Linked DNA regions of Homo sapiens: region 2 is linked to region 1. Evidence: promoter capture Hi-C in 16 types of primary human blood cells and fetal thymus (Javierre and others, 2016). All regions are on one chromosome and are shown on one strand. The core of a region is centred on a gene start or on the middle of the fragment in contact, and the rest is flanking DNA. Distances in the headings are between cores, read along the strand shown. Region 1 holds the start of INHBE (inhibin subunit beta E). Region 2 holds the start of TSPAN31 (tetraspanin 31).

Region 1 (5,963 bases), core at 2,044-4,543:
TTCACAAGTGTGATCATAGCCTCGAACTCCTGGGTTTAAGCGGTCTTCCGGCCTTAGCCTCCTAAGTAGCTGGGACCACCGGTGCCCAGCAAGAAGAGCTCTCTTAGAACACCTTACTTTCTTCTCCCCACCCAGTTCTATAGACCAGTGAGTCTCAAACTTTTTGGTTTCCTCTATACTCTTAAAAGTCATTAGGTTAGGCACAGTGGCTCAGACCTGTAATCCCAGCACTTTGGGAGGCCAAGGCAGGCGGATCACCTCAAGTCAGGAGTCCGAGACCAGCCTGGCCAACATGGTGAAACCCCATCTCTACTAAAAATACAAAAAATAGCTGGGCATGGTGGCGCAGGCCTGTAGTCCCAGCTACTCAGGAGGCTGAGGCAGGAGAATCGCTTGAACCTGGGAGGTGGAGGTTGCAGTGAGCCGAGATTGTGCCACTGCACTCCAGCCTGGGCGACAGAGCGAGACTCCGTCTCAAAAAAAAAAAAATCATTGAGCTTTTGTTCATATGATTTACATCTATCAATTCACCACATTAGAAATTAAAACTGAAAAAGACTGTAACACAAGACCATACAAGCACACATTCCATTAACAATGATGTCAGAAAGATGATGTAATCACATGTCACACGGCCTCTGGAAAACTCCACAATACAATTTTAAGATAATGAGAATTCAAAAGGCAAATAACATGTTAGTATTATTATGAAAATAGCTTTGACTTTGTGGACACCCCTGAAAAGGGACCTCCCAGAAGCCTACAGAGTACACTTGAAGAACTGTTGCTCTGGACCATCACCCTAACCCTTCTTTATGACTCACATTTGTTGATTTTCTTTCTCCTTTTTATTAAGAAAGTATAAGCCAGGCGCGGTGGCTCACGCCTATAATCTCATCACTTCGGGAGGCCAAGTCGGGTGGATCAAGAGGTCAAGAGATTGAGACCATCCTGGCCAACATGTTGAAACCTCGTTTCTACTAAGAATACAAAAATTAGTGGGCGCCTGTAATCCCAGCTGCTCGGGAGGCTGAGGCAGAAGAATCACTTGAACCCAGGAGACGGAGGTTGCAGTGAGCCAAGATCGTGTCACTGCACTCCAGCCTGGTGACAGAGCGAGACTCGATCTCAAAAAAATAAAAAAGAAGAAAGAAAGTATAAATGCTTGTCTCCCAGTGGGTCCTGTCCCCTGGGAAAAACCAGGGAACTTCTTAGGCTTAGTGCCTCATTTTCCTGACTCCTGTTTCTGGGGGTCCCCTAAGCATCCTCCCTCAGCGCCTTGCCCATCTCCCTCTTGACCTTCCCTTAAGGTACCTCAACAGCCCTTACCCTGGGCCAGCCTGCTTACCCTGCTTCAAGCCTGCTGGACCATCTATCTGCTTCCTCCTCCCCTCACTTGAGGACTTTCTCATCTTGGGAGAGGCTAAGTAATTTTTCTCTGCCTTCCCTCCCTCCCTCCCTAGTCCCTGACATCTTCTCACAGGACTTAGGGCAGGAAATCATGCTTTCTGGGTAGACCCCTTTAGAAGAAACGCTTTACCCATCTCCCAACACATCAGCCAACCTGGAATAAGCCAGAGTCTCAGACAAGAAAGTGCCCATTTGGGTCCCATAGGGGTCAAGTGAGTCATATTGCCAGGTGGTTGTTGGGTTGGGGTGTGGATCAGGAATCTGATGCCTCCAGTCACAGATGCCCTGTGCCTGGGAAACTTCATCTTGGTCTCTTCACTCCAAAGCCCCAGGTCCTCTTGCTAGCTGCAGCCACAGGCCTCCACCACCATATCTGGCACATCCGTCTTGACCACATTGCCATTATGATCCAGGTAGAGGAGAGAGAGGGGCCTTCGGGCAGTAGGGACACAACAGGAGGTACTGGCAGGCCAAGGATTGTTGGCTTTGAGGAGGCTGAAGACGGCAGAATGGAAAGAGGCAGCAATGCCTGGGCTGCCAGCCAGGTGGGGAGGGCACTGCCCACTGCAGTAATTCAGCTGGTACCCCTCGGGCTGCAGTATCCAGTCCCGCCATCCCAGTTCCTGGAAGTCTACGTAATGGTCTCGCCTGCAACATAAGGGGGTCGCAGGCTCACAGGTGGGGGTCCTCCTCCTGGCCCGGCCTGCTCCAGGCTCATTGGCTCGGATCTTAAGCTCTAGGAAGGGCTGCTGGTGTCCTGCTGTGTCCAAGAGCCGCCTCGGTTGTCCAGTAACTGTGCTGTTGCCTTCTAGGGGTCTGCAGTCTAGTTGCAGTTTCAGGACACCAGACTTCTCACCCCTCAAGCCACTAGAGGGCAGAGTTAAGGTATGCCAGCCCAGGTTGGTGATGTGGTGCTCAGCCAGGAGAGTGCGGGACCCTTGGCGCCTCCTCCTTGGTCCCCATCGGAAGATCCTCAAGCAAAGAGTGCCAGGAAGGGTGGGGAGCACGTGCAGCCACAGGCGGGCATGGTACAGGTGGTGGGACCGAGGAGTGGACAGGTGAAAAGTGAGCAGGGAGCTGTAGGCTGAAGTGGAGTCTGCCCGAAAGACAGAAAAGGGAAAGAAAATGTGAGTAGAGATGAAGCTCTCCTCTGAGACTCCCCAAGCCCTGCCCACTGCTCTCCCTCGAACCTACCTCTAGAAAAGTAGAGACTGCTTTGTGTCCTCTGCAACCAGTCCCTGCCCCAGCTCCTCCTTCTCCTGCCACACCCCACTCCCTCTGCTGCTCCTGCCAGGCTCCCCTTCTGCCTCCCTTTCCCTGTCTGCTCTTTGCCTGTTGCTCTCTCCCTCACCCACCTGTGACAGTAGCAAAGCTGATGACCTCCTCCCCATTCCCTGGAGCCACACTCCCTGGCTGTAGTCTCCGGAGGGCTCTGGTCAGCGCTGCCTGGGGTGGAGGATGAGTTATTCTGGGACGACTGGTCAGGTGCAACCCATCCAGGATTTGCTGCTTGGCTAGCTCCAGCACCAGAGCTCGTTCTGCTTGGGGTGCCAGTTTGGAGCCCCCACAGGAGGGACACACAGACCCTGTCCCCTGTGCTCGCACCAGTGCCCACAGCAGCACCAGCCAGAGCTGGACATCAGGGAGCCGCATGCTCCTGGTGAATGGCCCTGGTTCAGGAGCCTCGGATGGCAGTTGCTCCGTCTGTTGAGTCTGATTGCTGGGGGCCAATGAGGGCACAGTGACAGCAGACACCACTGCCACACCTACCCTTGGCCAAGGGTACAGCCACCTGTCTTCTATTGTCTGGGACTCAGGAAGGCTGAAAGTAGATCATCTGATGGATAGCTGTGCTTGACCCTCACAGCTCATGTCTGGCTACTGACCTGGGGCCTCTTTAGAGCCAGCTGCCTGGGTCTTCCAAACCTAGTGGTCAGCCAGCCGACCTACCCTCTGAGTCCCAGGATTGGCCAGCTGTGCTGCCCATCAGGCCCCTGCAGGGGGTGGAGGTCCTCCTCCCCATCAGCTCAGGTTTCACCATCTGGCCATGGTGACTGGGCCTGAAGTAGGGGTATGGGGGTGGGGGGGTGCAATGTGGACACGCATGATGCAAGAAAGAGGATGATTTCACATGCTCAGTCCCCAAGGTCTGGGACTTGGGGGAGGGAACGCCTTATGAGCCAGGTGGGGAAGGGCAATTTTCCCTCATACCTCTAGTCTTTCTAGCTTCACCACTGCTGCAGCAGTTTCCATGAGGCAGCTGTGAGTTCCAGTGGGTATTCCTCTGGGGCCCTTAGGCCAGAAGGAAAATTCTGGTCTCTTTATTTCTAGCACTGGGGCTAGGACAGGGATGAGGGTTTGGGCGGGTAGGAGAATGGAGCCCTCTTGCTCAGGCCCAGGTGGCAGTGCCACGAGGCACAGAAGTCACCCCCTGACCCTGCCTGTGCTGGCCGCCCAGAGTCCAGTTGGCCTGGAGCATGATGTGGAGCATGATGTGGAGGAGGGCCAGAGCCGGCGGGGGTTGGGGCGGGGAACGTGTTCCTGTGATGTCTGGGGAAGCCCAGAGAGGTGGTGGTGGTGGTGATGCAATCTTACACAGGGCAGAGTCCATCAGGACTGTCAGGGGGCATGACACTTGGGAGGGCCTATACCCAGCTGCCACTTCTCTTTCAAGGGACTGTGAGAGTTGCCTAAATTTGGGGCATCCTAGAAGTAGTGCCAGGCCTCCTTTTTTTCTTACATTTTTAAAATTTAAATTTTATTTTATTTTACTGAGGTAAGGTCTCAATCTGTTGTTCAGGCTGGAGTGTAGTGGCACAATCATAGCTCACTGCAGCCTTGAATTCCTGGGCTCAGACAATCCTTCTGCCTCAGCCTCCTTAGTAGTTGGGACTACAGGTGCGCACCACCACACCTGGCTAATTTTTAAATTTCCCACAGAGACAGGGTCTCGCTATGTTGCCCAGGCTGGTCTTGAACTCCTGGGCTCAAGCAATCCACTTGCCTCAGCCTCCTAAAGTGCTGAGGTTACAGGCGTGAGCCACCGCACCACCCTTCAGGCCTGTTAATGGGGGTAGAAAATGGGAGCTCTAAGAGCTTTTGACAACAAAGCAAGGCAAATACAGCAGTCTTGGTTCCCAGTCTCAGCCCTCCTGACCACATTTTCTCACTGTCTTTATTTTATTTTATTTTATTTTATTTTTTGAGGCTGAGTCTCGCTCTGTCGCCCAGGCTGGAGTGCAGTGGCACAATCTCGGCTCACTGCAAGCTCCACCTCCCGGGTTCACACCATTCTTCTGCCTCAGCCTCCCGAGTCGCTGGGACTACAGGTGCCAGCCACCACGCCCGGCTAGTTTTTTGCATTTTTAGTAGAGACGGGGTTTCACTGTGTTAGCCAGGATGGTCTCCATCTCCCGACCTCATGATCTGCCCGCCTCGGCCTCCCAAAGTGCTGGGATTACAGGCATGAGCCACCGCACCTGACCTATTTTTTATTTTATTTTTTATGTTTTTGAGACAGGGTCTTACTCTGTCATCCAGGCTGGAGTGTGGTGGCCTGATCACAGCTCACTGCAGCCTTGACCTCCTGGGTTAAGTGATTCTTCCACCTCAGCTTCCAGAGTAGCTAAGTCTACAGGTGCGTGCCACCACACCAACCACACCACACCACACCACACAGGCTAATTTATTTTTTATTCTTTTGTAGAGACAGGGTCTTGCTGTGTTGCCCAGGGTGGTCTCAAGCTCCTGGGCTCAAGCGATCCTCTCACCTCAGCGTCCCAAGGCGCTAGGATTATAGACATGAGCCACCACACCCAGTCCTCACTGGCTTTAAATGGGGGGGGACCCAGACCCCTCCACATTGAATTCATGAAGGTGGGCCTCATGCTAGCTTTTCTCCTTATGCCCCAATTTCTCCAAGAAGCTTGATGGGGAGAAAGCTGTGGGGGAAGTGGGTGTGATTTGGAAATGTGTCTTTACTCCACTTTGCTCATCTCCCCTCTGTTTAGATGATGGGGGCTGTCAAGAGAGACTATTAGATCTAGGCGACAGGGTTCCTAATTGGAAGGCTGGACCTCAGTACCACCAGTGTCCACCATGTGGCAGTGCCGTGCCTCTGGACAGCAGCTGGCTTGTAGCTGGCTGGAGCTTCCCAGGGACAGGGAAGGGGCAGCTCTGGGGAATGGAGTGATGAGGAGTGCCCCTCGACCTCTCACTCTGGGGACGCTGCCTCCCCCACAAGAGACAGGGACAAGCTGGTTCCTTTGTTCTTTCCCCATCACACTGCCAGAGAAGAGAGACTGTCTTCAGGATCCACATCACTGCTACCTTTGGTTTTGGACCTCATCACACAAACACGTGGCAATGGAGCTTGGTGATGTACCAGGCTCTTCCTAGAACCTCAGGGCACTCTTTGGTGGGGGTGGAGTGGGGTGGGGGCGCACTGAGACGATTAGACCCTCCTGTCCACCCTGCATTTCTCCCCAAGCTCTGAAACACATTCAAGAGCTCTGTCCAGTGTTCTCCCCAGCTCCCAGCAACCATTCTGTTGG
Region 2 (5,963 bases), core at 1,114-3,613, 290 kb before region 1:
TTGACCTCATGATCCACCCACATCAGACTCCCAAAGTGCTAGGATTACAGGCGTGAGCCGCTGCACCTGGCATTTCTTTTTTTTTAAAAAAAGAGACAAGGTCTTGCTTGCCCAGGCTGATCTAGAACTCCTGGGCTCAAGCAGTCCTCTCACCTCAGCATCCCAAAGTGCTGGAATTGTTGGCCTTTATTCCCTATACTTCCTATTTTGAGCCACTAAGCAGTAACCATTCAACTAAGATATCTTTGAAAATGACTGCTACCTTATATCCCTTCTCACCTTAGGCCTCTCTTCTGTGGAAACTCTGAAGCCGACCAGTTGGGCAAAATCTTTGAGTAAGTGACCAACATGGGAGAAAAAGATTTTCTATTCTGAGTCCTCTTTCTGCTGAACCCAGGATGGCAACTGGCTCTGCCCATGGGGATGGGAACTGGAGGACCCTCCTGACCAGAGTTCTCCTGTCCCCCACAGCCTGATTGGGCTGCCTCCAGAGGATGACTGGCCTCGAGATGTATCCCTGCCCCGTGGAGCCTTTCCCCCCAGAGGGCCCCGCCCAGTGCAGTCGGTGGTACCTGAGATGGAGGAGTCGGGAGCACAGCTGCTGCTGGTACTGGAGATGGCTGTGGGCACAGGGAAAGAAATAGAGACTGGGGAAAGAAATAGAGCAGTATGCAGGGCCCTGGCCACTGTGGTTAATGAAACTTGGTTGGTAGATGGGCTGTAGTTTTTATTACAGCTGCAAATAGCCACCCACAGAGAAGGATATAGAAGAGAACCCATCCTGGCTGGGCACGGTGGCTCACGCCTGTAATCCCAGCACTTTGGGAGGCCAAGGTGGGCGTATCACCTGAGGTCAGGAGTTCGAGACCAGCCTGGCCAACATGGTGAAACCTCGTCTCTACTAAAAGTACAAAAATAAGCCGGGGGTGGTGGCACACGCCTGTAATCTCAGCTACTTGGGAGGCTGAGATAGGAGAATCACTTCAACTCAGGAGGCGGAGGTTGCAGTGAGCTGAGATCATACCATTGCACTCCAGCCTGGGTGATAGAGCGAGACTCCGTCTCAAAAAAAAAAAAAAAGAAAAAAGAAGAAAGCTCATCCCAGGTATTGTTGTGGGTGGGCAGAAGTCTGTTTTCTTCATGGTTTTCTGACCTTTGCCTCTCCCCTCAGGAAATGCTGACTTTTAACCCACACAAGCGAATCTCTGCCTTTCGAGCTCTGCAGCACTCTTATCTACATAAGGATGAAGGTAATCCGGAGTGAGCAATGGAGTGGCTGCCATGGAAGGAAGAAAAGCTGCCATTTCCCTTCTGGACACTGAGAGGGCAATCTTTGCCTTTATCTCTGAGGCTATGGAGGGTCCTCCTCCATCTTTCTACAGAGATTACTTTGCTGCCTTAATGACATTCCCCTCCCACCTCTCCTTTTGAGGCTTCTCCTTCTCCTTCCCATTTCTCTACACTAAGGGGTATGTTCCCTCTTGTCCCTTTCCCTACCTTTATATTTGGGGTCCTTTTTTATACAGGAAAAACAAAACAAAGAAATAATGGTCTTTTTTTTTTTTTTAATGTTTCTTCCTCTGTTTGGCTTTGCCATTGTGCGATTTGGAAAAACCACTTGGAAGAAGGGACTTTCCTGCAAAACCTTAAAGACTGGTTAAATTACAGGGCCTAGGAAGTCAGTGGAGCCCCTTGACTGACAAAGCTTAGAAAGGAACTGAAATTGCTTCTTTGAATATGGATTTTAGGCGGGGCGTGGTGGCTCACGCCTATAATCCCAGCACGTTGGGAGGCCAACGCGGGTGGATCACCTGAGGTCAGGAGTTCGAGACCAGCCTGACTAACATGGTGAAACCCTGTCTCTACTAAAAATACAAAATTAGTCAGGCGTGGTGGTGCACACCTGTAATCCCAGCTACTTGGGAGACTGAGGCAGGAGGATCGCTTGAACCCGGGAGGCAGAGGTTGCGGTGAGCCGAGATCATGCCATTGCACTCCAGCCTGGGCAACAGAGCAAGACTCTGTGTCAAAAAAAAAAAAAGAATATAGATTTTTAAATGGCTTTTACTTTTATATTCGCTAAACTTTCTCAAACTGGATCCTGCTTATTACAGGAAAGAGTTCTTGGTTGTTTTCTCCTTGGCCCTATCCCTGATTTACCCTTAGAGCCACACCAGGGTATGTTGAGGTGATCCAGTATATGGACAGAGGAAGGGAAACAGCTAAGAATGACTCCAGCCCCCATCCTATGCACTCACAGAAGCTTCCCATATCCTCTTGGAGAGAGAGGAAGAAAGTTTTTCCTTTTATTCCTTATAGTCTGGCTCCCACTAAAATATGTCAAGGCATAAAGTCTTGCTATTCCATCAATTTTAGAGGATGTGACAAGGGGCCTTTCCTTTTTCTCAAACCAAAACGGTTACAGACCCTAGATATTCCCTAAGGGAGGAAGAGAAAGCTTAGAGAGAGCAGAAGAAAAGTCAGAAGGATCCAAAGTCTCATAGAAAGGCACTGGGGTTGGCTCTAGGATCCTTCTGATTCCGAAATCTCATTGCTAGCCAAACACCAAGGATCTGTAGGAACAAAGGGAGAGAGATAAGTATCAATTAATTCTCAGTCTCAAAAAGGATGTGTGTGAGGGAACTGGAGAATGTTACCTCTGTAAAGCTAAAGAAGAGTCCAACACCCCCTAGGATTTTCAGGGCTTCGTCTGAATGCTTAAGAAACTTTTCTCCACACATCTGGCATGTGGGGCTCTGGCTCTTGCAGATCTGAGGATAAAACGTGAAGAATGCAAAGTTGTGAATGTAAAGTTGCTAGTGACTAATACCTATGCCGAATGTCCCTAGAAACTTTACTGTTATCTGACCAGTGTCCTACAAACTAAAATCCTACTTGGCTAATTCCCCAGCCTCTATCCACCCCCACCTCCCACCAACACAGCCCCAATACAAGAGGGCTTGTAGAGAGAGAAACAATGACATTCAAACTAAATTTGCCAACTTGGGCATTGTCCTTACCCAGTTTCCTACCTCCCCTGGCTGCTGCACCACCCCCAACACACTCACTGCAGTGCAGAAATCATAATCTTGTTGATACAGGGTTGTGAGGTTGAATAAGCCACAACAATCAAAACTTCTTTCCAGTTCATCCCGAGTCTTGTTGCTCATGACCCACCAAGAAGCATTGATGACATCTGTCTGAAAGATATGGGTAGAGGGAAATTAAGTCTCCCTACATCCTGTTATCAGTTCAAGTGCCTCAATTTCCCTAGCCCAGCAAAGGAAGTCAAACAGAAGCATAACGGTGTGCAACAATTATAGACACGATAAATATCTACCTTTTGAGGTTCTCTAGATCATCCTCATGGAAAATTAACCAGACATCCCAGAGGAAGCAAATAGCCCAAGAGGCCAGAAGCAGTGCACCTAAGGATGATCTTTGGGTAGTTGGGGCCAGACTAAGGAAGGAGTTCGAGGTTAAGAGGAAAATTTTAAAAAGCAAGTAAGTACTTGAAAGGGTACTGTCTTACCTGTTTGCTTCGGTTAATAGCCAGACATGAGCAAGAGATTACAAATTGGAAGATGAAGACCAAACCAAGGATGATCATGTACTGAGAGGAAAGGTTATGGAAAAAAGTCCTAGATTCCTTTATGTTTCATCTATAATAACTGTCTGGTCTCATCTGTTCATAGAACTTACACCACCATGTCAAATTGAAAGCAATAAAATCAGCTCTTGTTTCGTAGATTATGGGACAGGGCAGGGCAAGGAGACGTGTCCAAGATCCCTGAGGTCCCCTACCCTTCTAACATCTTCCTTAGATGACAGCCCTCCCAAGCCCCCGGTTGCCCCCATCACTTCAGGTCAGGATACAAAGAACAGCAGGACTTGGTGGTGGTTGACAGCACCCACCAGTCCAGCCACTGCAATAAGGAGAAGGAAGACTCCCACAGCAATGACTCCGCCGATGATGTGGATGCTGGACACCAGACCCAGGCCCTTGCCCCAAGCAGCCACTCCAATGAGCAACAAGCTCACCAGCTACGAAGAAAGAGCAGGATACATCTCAACAATTCTAGCATGCGGCACAGCCCAAGGCCATACAAGAGGACTTGGGAGCGGGGCAGGGGGAAGGAATAATGGAATAGTGTGTGAATGGGAGCTGGGGATGGTGCTATCCGCACCGGGAGCATCCCTAGGCACTCCCAAAGGTTAGAATGGCTAGGATGGCGGGGAGGGGGTGGCAGGGATGGTAGTATGAATGCAAAAGATGAACCCTCAGGATCATCCTATCACTTCCAGTTTGGAAGAAACTGAGGTTCACAGGAAGGAGGTATGGAACTTACGCCCACGGCCTTCAGTTCATTCCCCCACCCTCAGACAAACCCCCTTAATCAACCGGAAGTCTCCTCTCTCCCACGGAAGTCCCCAGGAATTCCCTCGTCGCCGGAAGTTCCTGGGAATCTTCCCGGAACCCCCATACACCCCTCTCCCCACCGGAAGTACCCTAGAGATTCTCCCCACGGGGCCTTTCCGCCTTGAAGCTTCCCCCACCTCCAAAACCTCACCATGTAGACCACGTTGAGAGCGCAAAGCGCATTCTTGGAGCAGGCAAAGCCGCCACAAACCATCTCCCCAGCTCTGGGGACCCAAGTGGTCCCAAGGACTTGGGGGGAGGGTATTGGGGACCGTCTTCCAGGACCCCGACAGCTTCTGTCTCTTTAAATCGAGGCCAGCCAAACCCAATACTCTGCGCCTGCACCGTCCCTCCCCTGCCTCTGGATTGGCGAAATGCGTGGCTAATCCTGGACGTCCAAGGCCTGCATGCCAATCAACCCGCATTACGTCACCGACCCGCCTTCTGTCCCTCTCCTTTTGTTTTTTCATTGGGCGAAACTTAAAACTAGGGGCAGGGTTTCTAGAGACTCTCTTAGGGACTACAGCCTAAACTCCAAAAGCTTAGGTTGAAAGCTGAGCTTTCTGTGGTCGGAGTTAGGAGAGGGCTAATTCCCAGGGAGACGGCTCTGGAGGAACTTAGGTGAAGGGGAGACGGCGGGAGGGGCGGGTAGGGGGCCGCTCTGAGAGCTGGGCAAAAAGGGCTCCGCCCGTAGAAGGAGGGCCCTTCCCCACCCCCTTCCCCCTGTTCTGCAGTGACCTCACGATGACGCCATTGTTTTGTTATTGCGTCACGCTCGGGAACACCCAAAGGAGCCACATATTGAGCTTATTTAGCCCGGCCGCAGAGTCCGCGGGTTGGACACAGCAACACCCAGCAAATCATCACACGTTTGTGTGTCCTCTAGTACCCATGTCCTGTTCCATATCTCCTCCTAAAGGGGTGTGAATATACCAGAAATTCAGTGTGGAAATAGCGGCCTCAGGCCAGCGCATTCCTGTATGTGGCATTGCCACAAGTGCACAGAGGGGTGTGCTCAGCATTTTCAGAGTACACGCCTGATCTAGGGCTTGCAAAAAAACGGCAGGCAAGAGGAAGAGTCTCATTTACATAAATATAAGTGGAAGGAGCCTCCACCTTTTCACTTGGGGGTAGGCTGATCAACAACTTTATTATCTAGTAAGTGCTTTGACAAACCGTCCTTCTCACGGGGGTAGGGAAAGGCATAATCCTTCTCTTCCCCAGGAGAAAGAAACAGTAGGAACAAAAAAGAAAACCCTCCAATCAACTCAACAGAATGATTTAAGTTTGTGTGTACTTAGATTCTATAGACTTACTGCCACAGTCAGATTGCCACTTCCTAGCTGCGTAACCTTTGGCCAGGCACTTAGAAACTGTCTGTGCGTGTTTCCTCATCTGTAAAATGGGGATAAATAACAACACACCCTACCTCTTGGGTTGTAAGAATTAAATGAGTTAATATATGTAGAATACTTAGAACAGTACCTGGCATATAGTAAACACTCAATGTTAGTTATTACTTTTCAGGTCATTTTACAGGTTC

Evidence for each region. The method cuts DNA at HindIII sites, captures the fragments that hold promoters and counts their contacts. A CHiCAGO score of 5 or more calls a contact.
Region 2: a contact is called between a fragment that was not itself captured here and the fragment with the promoter of INHBE in region 1, in 5 of 17 cell types (naive CD8 T cells, naive B cells, total CD4 T cells and 2 more). The highest score is 7.6, in naive CD8 T cells.

The regions. Positions count from the first base shown.
Region 1 is chr12:57,452,637-57,458,599 of GRCh38, reverse strand. INHBE (inhibin subunit beta E) reads right to left here and starts at 3,293. Exons shown (of 2, transcript NM_031479.5): 1 at 2,766-3,293; 2 at 575-2,506. The coding sequence starts at 3,063. The coding sequence ends at 1,752. LOC124902947 (a long non-coding RNA gene) reads left to right here. Exons shown (of 2, transcript XR_007063335.1): 2 at 1-1,158. RefSeq lists an enhancer at 3,320-3,614. The HindIII fragment of the contact is 16,061 bases long and covers 1-5,337 here.
Region 2 is chr12:57,743,826-57,749,788 of GRCh38, reverse strand. It overlaps TSPAN31 (tetraspanin 31), which reads right to left and starts at 4,750. Exons shown (of 6, transcript NM_005981.5): 1 at 4,572-4,750; 2 at 3,877-4,044; 3 at 3,533-3,613; 4 at 3,069-3,200; 5 at 2,658-2,771; 6 at 1-2,573. The coding sequence starts at 4,634. The coding sequence ends at 2,499. It overlaps CDK4 (cyclin dependent kinase 4), which reads left to right. Exons shown (of 8, transcript NM_000075.4): 6 at 285-335; 7 at 472-607; 8 at 1,172-2,062. The coding sequence ends at 1,264. MIR6759 (microRNA 6759) reads left to right here and starts at 1,107; the gene lies at 1,107-1,171. RefSeq lists an enhancer at 3,940-4,019. The HindIII fragment of the contact is 195 bases long and covers 2,266-2,460 here.